2 separate regions of the Homo sapiens genome follow, and region 2 is linked to region 1. Evidence: promoter capture Hi-C in 16 types of primary human blood cells and fetal thymus (Javierre and others, 2016). All regions are on one chromosome and are shown on one strand. The core of a region is centred on a gene start or on the middle of the fragment in contact, and the rest is flanking DNA. Distances in the headings are between cores, read along the strand shown. Region 1 overlaps KCTD16 (potassium channel tetramerization domain containing 16). Region 2 holds the start of GNPDA1 (glucosamine-6-phosphate deaminase 1).

What was found. The method cuts DNA at HindIII sites, captures the fragments that hold promoters and counts their contacts. A CHiCAGO score of 5 or more calls a contact.
Region 2: a contact is called between the fragment with the promoter of GNPDA1 here and a fragment that was not itself captured in region 1, in 1 of 17 cell types (activated CD4 T cells). The highest score is 5.0, in activated CD4 T cells.

What each region holds. Positions count from the first base shown.
Region 1 is chr5:144,185,837-144,190,802 of GRCh38, reverse strand. The region is part of intron 2 of KCTD16 (potassium channel tetramerization domain containing 16); the gene reads right to left. Among named protein-coding and RNA genes, the nearest start is that of KCTD16, 17 kb to the right of the region's middle. The HindIII fragment of the contact is 2,014 bases long and covers 350-2,363 here.
Region 2 is chr5:142,011,282-142,015,931 of GRCh38, reverse strand. It overlaps GNPDA1 (glucosamine-6-phosphate deaminase 1), which reads left to right and starts at 2,905. Exons shown (of 7, transcript NM_005471.5): 1 at 2,905-2,937; 2 at 3,891-4,020. The coding sequence starts at 3,897. RefSeq lists a cis regulatory region at 1,366-1,638 and silencers at 2,780-3,049, 3,721-3,780. The HindIII fragment of the contact is 4,254 bases long and covers 1-3,815 here.

The DNA of each region.
Region 1 (4,966 bases), core at 107-2,606:
TAGAGCTCACATTCTAGACAATAAATGAATAAGCATATAGAATGTCAGATGATAATAAATATAGTGGAGAAAAATAAAATAGAATATTAATTACTATGTTACTGGGGAGGGGTATTAATAGCAAAGGGACAGAGGGGACAAGGAAAGAGGTAGGGGAAAAGTGTGTTCTTTAGTAGTTTAAGCTAAAAAAGGCTTTTTCCAGTCAGGTGAACTATAGTAAAGAAAGGAATTTTCATTCAACAATCAATCGTAATATTAATAGATATAATAATAGATACCAATTACTGAATCACTACTACATGACTGTCACTATGCTGAGCATTATTTCATTTATTCTTCACAATAAGCTTTGTTAGTGTGACACTTATAGGCACAAAGGAAAGTGAGGCATCGTAAGAAAGAGAGAGAACGGAAGGAGAGAGAAGCCAAGGTTCAGATAAGTCAAGTAGCTAGCCCAAGTGATCTTACGCAAATGTACAGAACGTGGATTTGAGTGCAGACACTCTGACTCCAAAGCCTGCACTCTTAACCCAGACACTGGGTTGAGGTACAGAGATAAATAAGTCATGGACTCTGCCTTGGAATTGCTCATAGTCTAGTAAGAGAGACAGACTCGTAAACAAATAAATCCAGTGCAGTGATAGGAGCTATAATAGAGGTATAATAGCGTTAAGGAGACACAGAGGAAAGAGTGACTAAGTGCCTGGCTGCGGGTGGGGTGAAGGGTTATCAAAATGCAGACATATTCATTTGTGCTTATGTAATTCATTGCTCTCGCTGGGTCTGGTTACTCACAACGAATCTGCAGTTCCCTCCAAAACCTTTTCCGGTGGATTTCCCCAGTCTGTCTTCACAGGTTGTGGGTTGTCAGCCTCATCCTGAATGCAATAAGTAGTTCTGACACAGAGGCCACATAAACTCTTTAAAGCCACTGTGGAGAAGGAAGGGAAATAACAATATAGCAGTCTACCTTAACTACCTTCATAAAAGGCTAAGGAATATGGCAACCATGTGAATTAAAATGAGATGACCAATATAAGGGAAAAGAGGAAAAATGCTGGCAAACCACCTGAAAAAACTAAAGGGCATGTGTATTGTGATACAAGGTGGCTGACAACAGTTACTCAGAAAGGAAAATTATATTCCGTGAAGGTCCTTATTACCTAGCACGATTTGCTTTAAGCCTCCATTCTTAACCTAGGTCTGCAAACGGGATTCACAAAATTCATGAATTCCCTGAAATTGTATGCAAAACTCTATGTACCTGCTCTACATTTTCTTTTTCTTTTTTCTTTTTTTTTTTTTTTGAGATGGAGTCTCACTCTGTCACCCCGGCTGAAGTGCAGTGGCGCAATCTAGGCTCACTGCAAGCTCCGCCTCCCAGGTTCACGCCATTCTCCTGCCTCAGCCTCCCGAGCAGCTGGGACTACAGGCGCCCGCCACCACACCCGGCTAATTTTGTTACTGTATTTTTAGTAGAGTCGGGGTTTCACCATGTTAGCCAGGATGGTCTCAATCTCCTGACCTCGTGATCCGCCCGCCTCGGCCTCCCAAAGTCCTGGGATTACAGGCGTGACCTGCTCTGCATTTTCTAGAGATCCCAAGAGTTCATCCAAATTTCAAAACAGTACATGTTCTCCAAGTAGGTTAAGAGCTGTGCGTTAAATACTTTCAGAACTGCTACTCCAGTAGATTTAAGTATAAAGAGCCTGGCATATCTTAGAGGGTCCAAAATGTCTAAGTGCATCCTTTGATATCATTGTTATTTATTGCCTTTATCAATGTGTTTGCAAATTACTGGTGCTACTTAGACACCCTACACATGAATATAAGGCCTTACCATGACAACAGGGCTTGCTTTTGATTATGTTGTGTATAGTTGATCTTTTATCTCTCTTTTGGAACTTCTTTGTAGAAAGATTCACTTTTCAAAGAAGCTGTTCACTCAGTATTGATTCTCAACTTTTTGTGGCAGGGGAGGGGAGGTGAGTATTTGATTAGGAATATTACAATGCCCCATTTGGTGTTTTCAAGCTGACCTCTCACCTGACTCTTTTCCACTCCAAACCCCTATTTCATAACTCAAGTTATTTATCTGTTGATACATTTCTCTTCATGTATATTTGGATCACCTTAGGCACAACAGCTTAAATTTTATTTTGGTTAGATGCCTCTTTATTACATTTGATTTATAGTCATTGAAAAAGTTTTGAGGATAGTGGAGAATCTTCCACCTTTTTACTGATGCTGCTCAATGACAAATTTGCCAGAGGTTGAAATGTCCTACCTACTAACCATCAGCCTAGCCACTTTTGGTTAAGCACCCTTTGTGGGTTAAAGAAAAGAGTTAGGATGAGAAAGCTTACCACCAGATGTATCATTCTAAACTCCATCAGGAAATGCATTCTTAAAACTAACTTTGACTATTTTCTCATGTACTTTCTCTTGACAGACATAAGAAAACAGATCTAGGATGAGAATGCGGCCTTAATGATTCCCTACTGCTAAATAACAGTAAATCTGGAAGAGGTACAAAGCTAATATCTATTAGCTTTTTGTAAGTACCAAAGGACAATACACATAGAAGGATCACATTAACAGAAAAATCCAGATGAAATGTAAGATATGGACAATTAATTACCAACCAAAACATTTGCCTAGACTCAACCCCATCAAAGAAGCCTTGCTGTTGTGATAAGAAGCAAGAAACCTATAATGATGGCAGATTATCAGAGCCTCTTGCCAACCCTGGTGAAAAACAACTCCAGATACATAATTTTTCAGTCTACTATGTCTAAGCTAGGCTCAGACAGAAGAGTGCTGTCTACTAGATTAACCACATCCACTTCCGGTGGGGCTGGAGACGTGGTTACTGAAGCAATGGCTTGTGCAAATATTTTTTGATGAAATCACAGCCTGAAGTAGAAGAGCTGCTGGCAAAAATAATCTAAACAAAGATCCTGGCTGGTTTCCAATAAATAGCCTTCTTTCCTCAAACATTTAACACAACCTAAGACATCTGGAACTTGTAGAATCATTTTTCCAGGCAAAAGCAAAAATTTTACAGAATATTTGATTAACAGCAAGACTCTGGGGTACACAAAGAAATCCAGAGATCAACTGCTAAAGAATAAATTTAATAAACAATTAAGCAATTAAGAAGTCTACCTACTGCCAGCCTCAAGTCATTAATGATTCAGTGAAAACAACTCATTTTCATATTTTCCTCTGTATATGCTTCATCAATAGAATTAAAATCTGAGGAAAAGGGGGAACCCAAGTGATATTTTGTTATAGCTAGAAGAATAAACAACATTTTTTCTCTCTTGCCCCCTGTGTGTATGTGTGTGTGTATATGTGTGTGTGTGTGTGTGTGTGAAATCAGCTCTTACCTTTGAAACTCTAAAATTTATTGACTCTGTTATTTTTTAATCCCTCCCTGTTAGAAATAGAAAGGCAGTGCTAGGAATGAATAGAAAATGAAGACTAAAATATTACCTGAAATTTGCATTCAATATGCATAGTAACAACTATTACAATAATGAGCCAGTACAATGCATTATGTCATTGGCAGGCAGAAAATTGTTATAAGTGGTTTGCAATATCTGTAGCTAATAATCTGGAAAAAAAAATGAGTCTAAGAAATAAATGAGATTTGTCAGATCTTTCAAATAAACATGTAAGAAGATTTGTGTTCTATGAACTATTTTTTATGTTTATGTATATATGGAATTTAGGAACTGAAAAGCCCTAAGGAGTTCTTTGACTATTTGAGGAGTGATTATTTGAATCATGTTTCTCTCCCCCAGTGACACTGTAAGCGCTGAGAGGGAAGGGATCATTATTATTTTTGTTCATTATTATATCCCATCCCCAGCACCTGGCACAGAACCTGACACATAATAGGTGTTGAATAAAGAGTTACTGAATGAATAGATGGATCAATACATCCCTATTCCAGTTTCTTTTTGTCTTCATTATTCAGCTGAGAAAACTGAGGCCAGAAAAGCTACACAGCTAATGTTACATTTCTAGTGGTTAAAAAAGTTAATAATCCTTTACCTTGATCAGTTTGGTAATATTAAAACTTTAACATACATAGAGTATATTGCCCTTGATGCTCTGTCTTTGGATTGGGCATGTGTTGAGGAGAAAATGTGGATACCTGGAAAACAGTTTGGCCTTGTTTAAACAAACTGGTTTTTTAAAGTCCTTCTGCTTTCTTTTAAGAGGTGAGAGAGCTTTGAGACAGACTTTTCAGCTATTTTTTAAAACTACAAATCTAGAATATTGTTAAAGCACATATAAATAAAATAAATGCAATGCTTATGATGATGAATAGTTCTGACTGGCAGCATGTACAATTTTTTATTTAAACTTTAAACCAATTCCCTTAGGCTCTGAACAGGGACAATAAGCCATTAGTTTTTTTTTTTTTCTTTTTTTTTTTAAAAAAAATGAGATCTAGCACAAACTTCGTAGAATATACTTCATATTTACATATTTCTTTCTTACATAACTGTAGACTTTAGATGCTAGTGTAAACTCTAATTGTTTTCTGGGTTGGCCATATGAGAGTCTCTGCTGTCTTTCCTGGTAGCAAACATCAAGCATAACTGATGAATTATTCTGTTTCTTTTGTGGGCCACAGTTTCCATATGTGACAAGTAAGCTACCTTATGATATGAATGATAGATTATAGAAGAGGCTCTGAAGACAGCCTGGTGTTCAAATGTTAGAATACAGAAGAGATTCTGAAGCTCACTTGGAGTTCAAATCTTGACTTCATCAACTGGGTCACCTAGGGCAAGTTATCATATTCCCTTCCAGGTACACCCAGAAACTTTTGCACCTCAGGTATCTTACCAGTAAAACAGGATGATAATAGCACTTGACTTAGAGAGTTCTTGTGAGGATTAATTGAGCCAATACATGTAAAATACTTAGGACAGCATTTATTATATAG
Region 2 (4,650 bases), core at 1,656-4,155, 2.2 Mb after region 1:
AATGAAGTTACTTGGCCACCCCGTAGCTGTGGGAGAAGCTGTGAGAGTCGTTGACTTTCCAGTTTCTCCAGTGGGAAGCAGCAAGGGAGAAGGAGTCTCTGAATGGCTGCTGGGTTAGTGTCTTCCATGCCTGCCTGGCCTTGAACTAATCATGGCCAGAGCCATGGAGTCTCTAATTGGTTTGCTCCTAAGTCAAAGGGTAGGGCCAGCACCACACAAACTCTATGAATTGAGCAGAATTTGGGAGGTAACATCTGGTCAGGTTGTTTGCCCAAAGCAAGGGTGCATTAGAAGGTATAAAAATATCTGACCATACAAGAGTTGCAGAGTGTTCCATTGCATGGATAAACTCACAATTCTTTTAATTTGGCAACTTTAGTTCCAAGACAAGAGGATGGGAGGATAGGTGTGGGTAATAGTTTAAACACAGATGTGGAGTAGGAGGAGTACAGGGAGTCAGGAGGTTAGGGCTAGAGAGCATTTCAGTATGGTTAGAGAGTGGGCTGTAAGGAGGGTTAGGAGGAAATAAGGGGTAAGTAATAACAGCTGGCTGTGAATGCCATGCTATGCTAATATTTCATTTAATAGTCACAACAGCCACACGAGGGCAGTATTACTTAATTTCCACTCAATTCTTATGTTTCAGGTAAGAAAACTGAGACCTGGAGAAGTTGAGTCATTTGCTTGAATTACTCACTAAATAACCAGAAATTAGCCAGACCAGAATTGAAATGCAGGTCTTTCCGATTAGTCCCCACGCTGATCCAAGAGCCTCCAGGCTTCGCAGAGACCCTGCACTGGTTCCCTGCAGAAGGGGTAACTCAGGGGAAATGGGCTTAGTCACCAGAAGTCAGTCACTCTCCTCCTGGAAAGGTCTGGATGCAGATGCTGCAGACCTGGCCCATGTTATCAGACGTGATCGGAGATTGGAGTTGGAGCTTCATTGTGAAACATCTGCAGTCCTCAAGCTGAGACAACATTTCTGGCTGGGGGCGGTGGCTCATGCCTGTAATCCCAGCACTTTAGGAGGCCAAGGCGGGCAGATCACCTGAGGTCAGGAGTTCACGACTAGCCTGGCCAGCATGGTGAAACCCCATCTCTATTAAAAGTACAAAAATTAGCTGGGCATGGTGGTGGGCATCTGTAATCCCAGCTACCCGGGAGGCTGAGGCAGGAGAACTGCTTGAACCCGGGAGGCGGAGGTTGCAGTGAGCAGAGATCACACCACTGTACTCCAGCCTGGGCAACAGAGCGAGACTCCATCTCAAAAAAAAAAAAAAAAAGATTTCTGACTGAATTTAAAAATAAACAAAAACTACACCAACACCGAGCCATTCACAGCCTCTCAGGATTTGGAAAACAAAACAAAACAAAACAAAATAACACTGAGGCAAAGAGCAAGTCCCCCACACTGTAAAGGTATCAGCTCCACCATCTGGTCTCATCAGGGCCTCACCAGATGAAGCCTACCCCTAGCAAGCTGGTCTGGAGCTGCAGTTGGGCCCAAGGGCTGGGTGAGCGCCTGGGGCTGTCCACAGTGAGCAGATTCAGCAGAATTGCAGAACGTGGCCACCCGGCTGACTGAGGAAGGCCCTGTCCCGTGGGCATAAAGCCAGGATTCCTTTGGCCTTTTGCTGCTGGAGGAAAACTAGGCTGATTCAGAAGGTCTCACCACTGCTCCCTAGCACTGACTAAAGTCCGGGATGTCAGACTATGAGGTCATATATCACAAGTCTCTGTACGCCTTTGATCCCCAGTTTCCACATCAATAAAATGGCGGTAATCATATCTGACGATTGGGCGGGATTCTATGAAATAATGCGCACAAAGCTCTGGCAAAACCCTATGTAATGGAAGATGTTACTGATGACCAGCACTCAAGTCCTTCCTCCAGCCTCCGCATGGAAAGTTCCCAAGTGTCCCTAGAAGTCTGGAACACTCTAATGTTGACTGGAAAGAATAAGATGGATCTCTTTTTCTGATATGGAAGCGTCCCAAATCCAGTCATACCAGCTGGGAGGCAGTGCCCGCTAGCGGTAAAAAGCATGGATTTTGGATTTGGACAGATCCCCCTGAATTGAAGGCACAAGGGAAACCACTTGTGCCTCTGGCCAAGTTAATTTTTCTCTCCAAGCGTCAGTTTCTCCACCTGTTAAAAAGTAACGGCAAACCTACCTCACTGGAGCTTAATAAGGATTAAGTGAAATAATGCAGGTCAAATATCCGAGCCTTGATATATATAAGCCTCATGTGTATGTGTTCCCATTTATGTAAAATAACAGTGTAAGCATATTCAAAGAAAGCAATTCAGAATGTACTCTTAAACTAAGCAATGGTTATCTTGGTGTGGGGAGTTGGGGAAACCAGGGGCCTGCCTTTTTCTCTATTATATAATGCTGCAAAGTTTGATCTTTAAAAAAGGACATTAAAAAGCCCAATTGTACTTTAAACAACACAAGTTTTAATACTTGGGTAAATAAATGGCATCTAAACAAAGAAAGAAACTGAAGGCAGAGCCAGGCCCAACCCTAGGAGACTGAGGAAGCGATTCTGCTTTGCCTGCCCCCAGCTCAACCCCTGCACTAAAACCCCCCGGCCCCAGCCCCAAGGTCCAGGGGGTTGTATTCCTGGGGGCGACCCGGCGCCCCTCAAGTCTCCCTCCTCTTGCACACACACACACACAAACCAGACTCGAATCCCCGCCTCCCAAGGGAAAGTGTTTTTTAAGGTCTGTTCCAGGGCCTGCCGGGGCCAGGGACCGAGGTGGGACTGAGTGGCCGGAACTCCTCCACCTGGGAGAGTCGGTCCGGGTAGCTGCGGCCAAGCTGAGTCAGCCCGGCGGGCGGCGCACGCGGCGCCGCGTGACCCGCAGCCACGTGACCCGCGCGGGGCCGGGCCGCCGGCGCAGTCGCTGCAGCCGCCGCGGGAGGCGTCCGTGTAAGTGGGTAGCAGGGCTGGCGGGGACCTTCCTCGCGGGCCGGAGCGCGGAGCGCTGCCCCAGCCCTACGGCACTCGGGGTCGGGACCCCGGGGAGCCGCCCTCACACATTTTCCAGGAGGGATCGGAGGGGCGATGGGGTGGTAATGGGGGTGGGGGACACGCTGTACCCCACCGACGACCGCGCGGGCCACCTTCGCCTCTTTCCTTCACACTCCCACTAACCGCAGTGCTGGGGGAACAAAATGTCCTCCTTCTGGAGCGATTACCTTTTCCCTTTTGTGCTTTGGGGGAAACTGAAGACCCAGAGGGGTTCGCAAAGCAAGGTGGGCCAGTAGGAAGACCCCTCCGCTAGTCCAGAGAGAGCACACAGCTCCCCAGGCAGAGCTCATTGCCCCACCTGCTCTAGTGGCCCAGCATGATCCCATGACCTCTCTACTTCTGGAGGAAGAGTCTTGGGGTAGACGGCGGGGAGGGGGTAGGGTATCCCGTTCCGGTAGGGGCAGGGATGAGGGAGGCGGGGCTGAGCCGAGCATCTATCTGGATGGTAACAGCCAACGTAGAAAATACTAAGTTGTTTACATGCATTCTCTCATTTCATATTACCCGTCGTGAAGTCTGTGAAGTAGGTACTATTGTCCCAATTTTTACATAGGAGGAAACGGCTCAGAGAGAACTTAGGTCCTTTGACCGAGGTCCTGCAGGTGGTAAGTGAAGGAGCTGAGATTAGAACCCAGATCTGCCCCCAGTGGCGCCTCCTCGTGGTCTGTGGGTGGTGGAGACGACTGGCCTAGCCTCTTAGCTCCTCTGTGAATAGAAAGGCCTTTTTCCTGGCTCAGACAGCTTGGGAAGGGGATTGTTGCTGGGTAAGAGAAGCTTCTCCCACCACCTCCATCTCTTTCTCTGCCCCTTACCATTGATTCCTTTCTGTCATCCCCTCTCCCCCACTGCAGGACAAGATGAAGCTCATCATCCTGGAGCACTATTCTCAGGCGAGCGAGTGGGCGGCTAAATACATCAGGAACCGCATCATCCAGTTTAACCCAGGGCCAGAGAAGTACTTCACCCTGGGGCTCCCCACTGGTGCGTTCTTGGATGGAGAGGGTGCCGTGGATAAGGGTGGAGAGAGTAGGCAACAGGGGCCAGGTACACCGGCTCACTCAGCCAAGGGACTTCACGGGGGCTCTGGGGTACTGGTGCTGAGAGAGCACCTTCCTGCCCCTTCCACATACAAAGGACCCAGCTTCCCTTATGGGTTGGTTTAGTCGCTGCCTGTCCCTGCAGAATCCTGGAGCAGAAGGGATCTTGGTTGGCAGGAAGAATTTGATTTTTAGGCTACATCCTAAGTCAGCCCTGTCCACCAGGGTTTCTTAACAGAATTAAGTCCTGATACCCTAAGGCATTCATTTTATGTAATGAATTAATTTCTCTTCTCTGCATCTAGAGGGGTACCAGCTAAGTACCATCCTTGGGAGAATTGAAAAGATAGTCACTTAGGTAATTTTCTGTAAGGCTTAATTAAACACAGGACCTAAATAAAAAACAGTTCTAATTTCTTTTGGAAAAAATCAAAATGTTGCTTTTTCAGAAAGATATTTTGACCCCAGCTCCTCAAGACAAATGTCCTGATTATTTCTTTCAGAGATGGATGGGTTTGCCCTAGTGGCCCTACCTGACCCATCCATTAGCGTGTCTATGTGTGTGTGTGTGTGT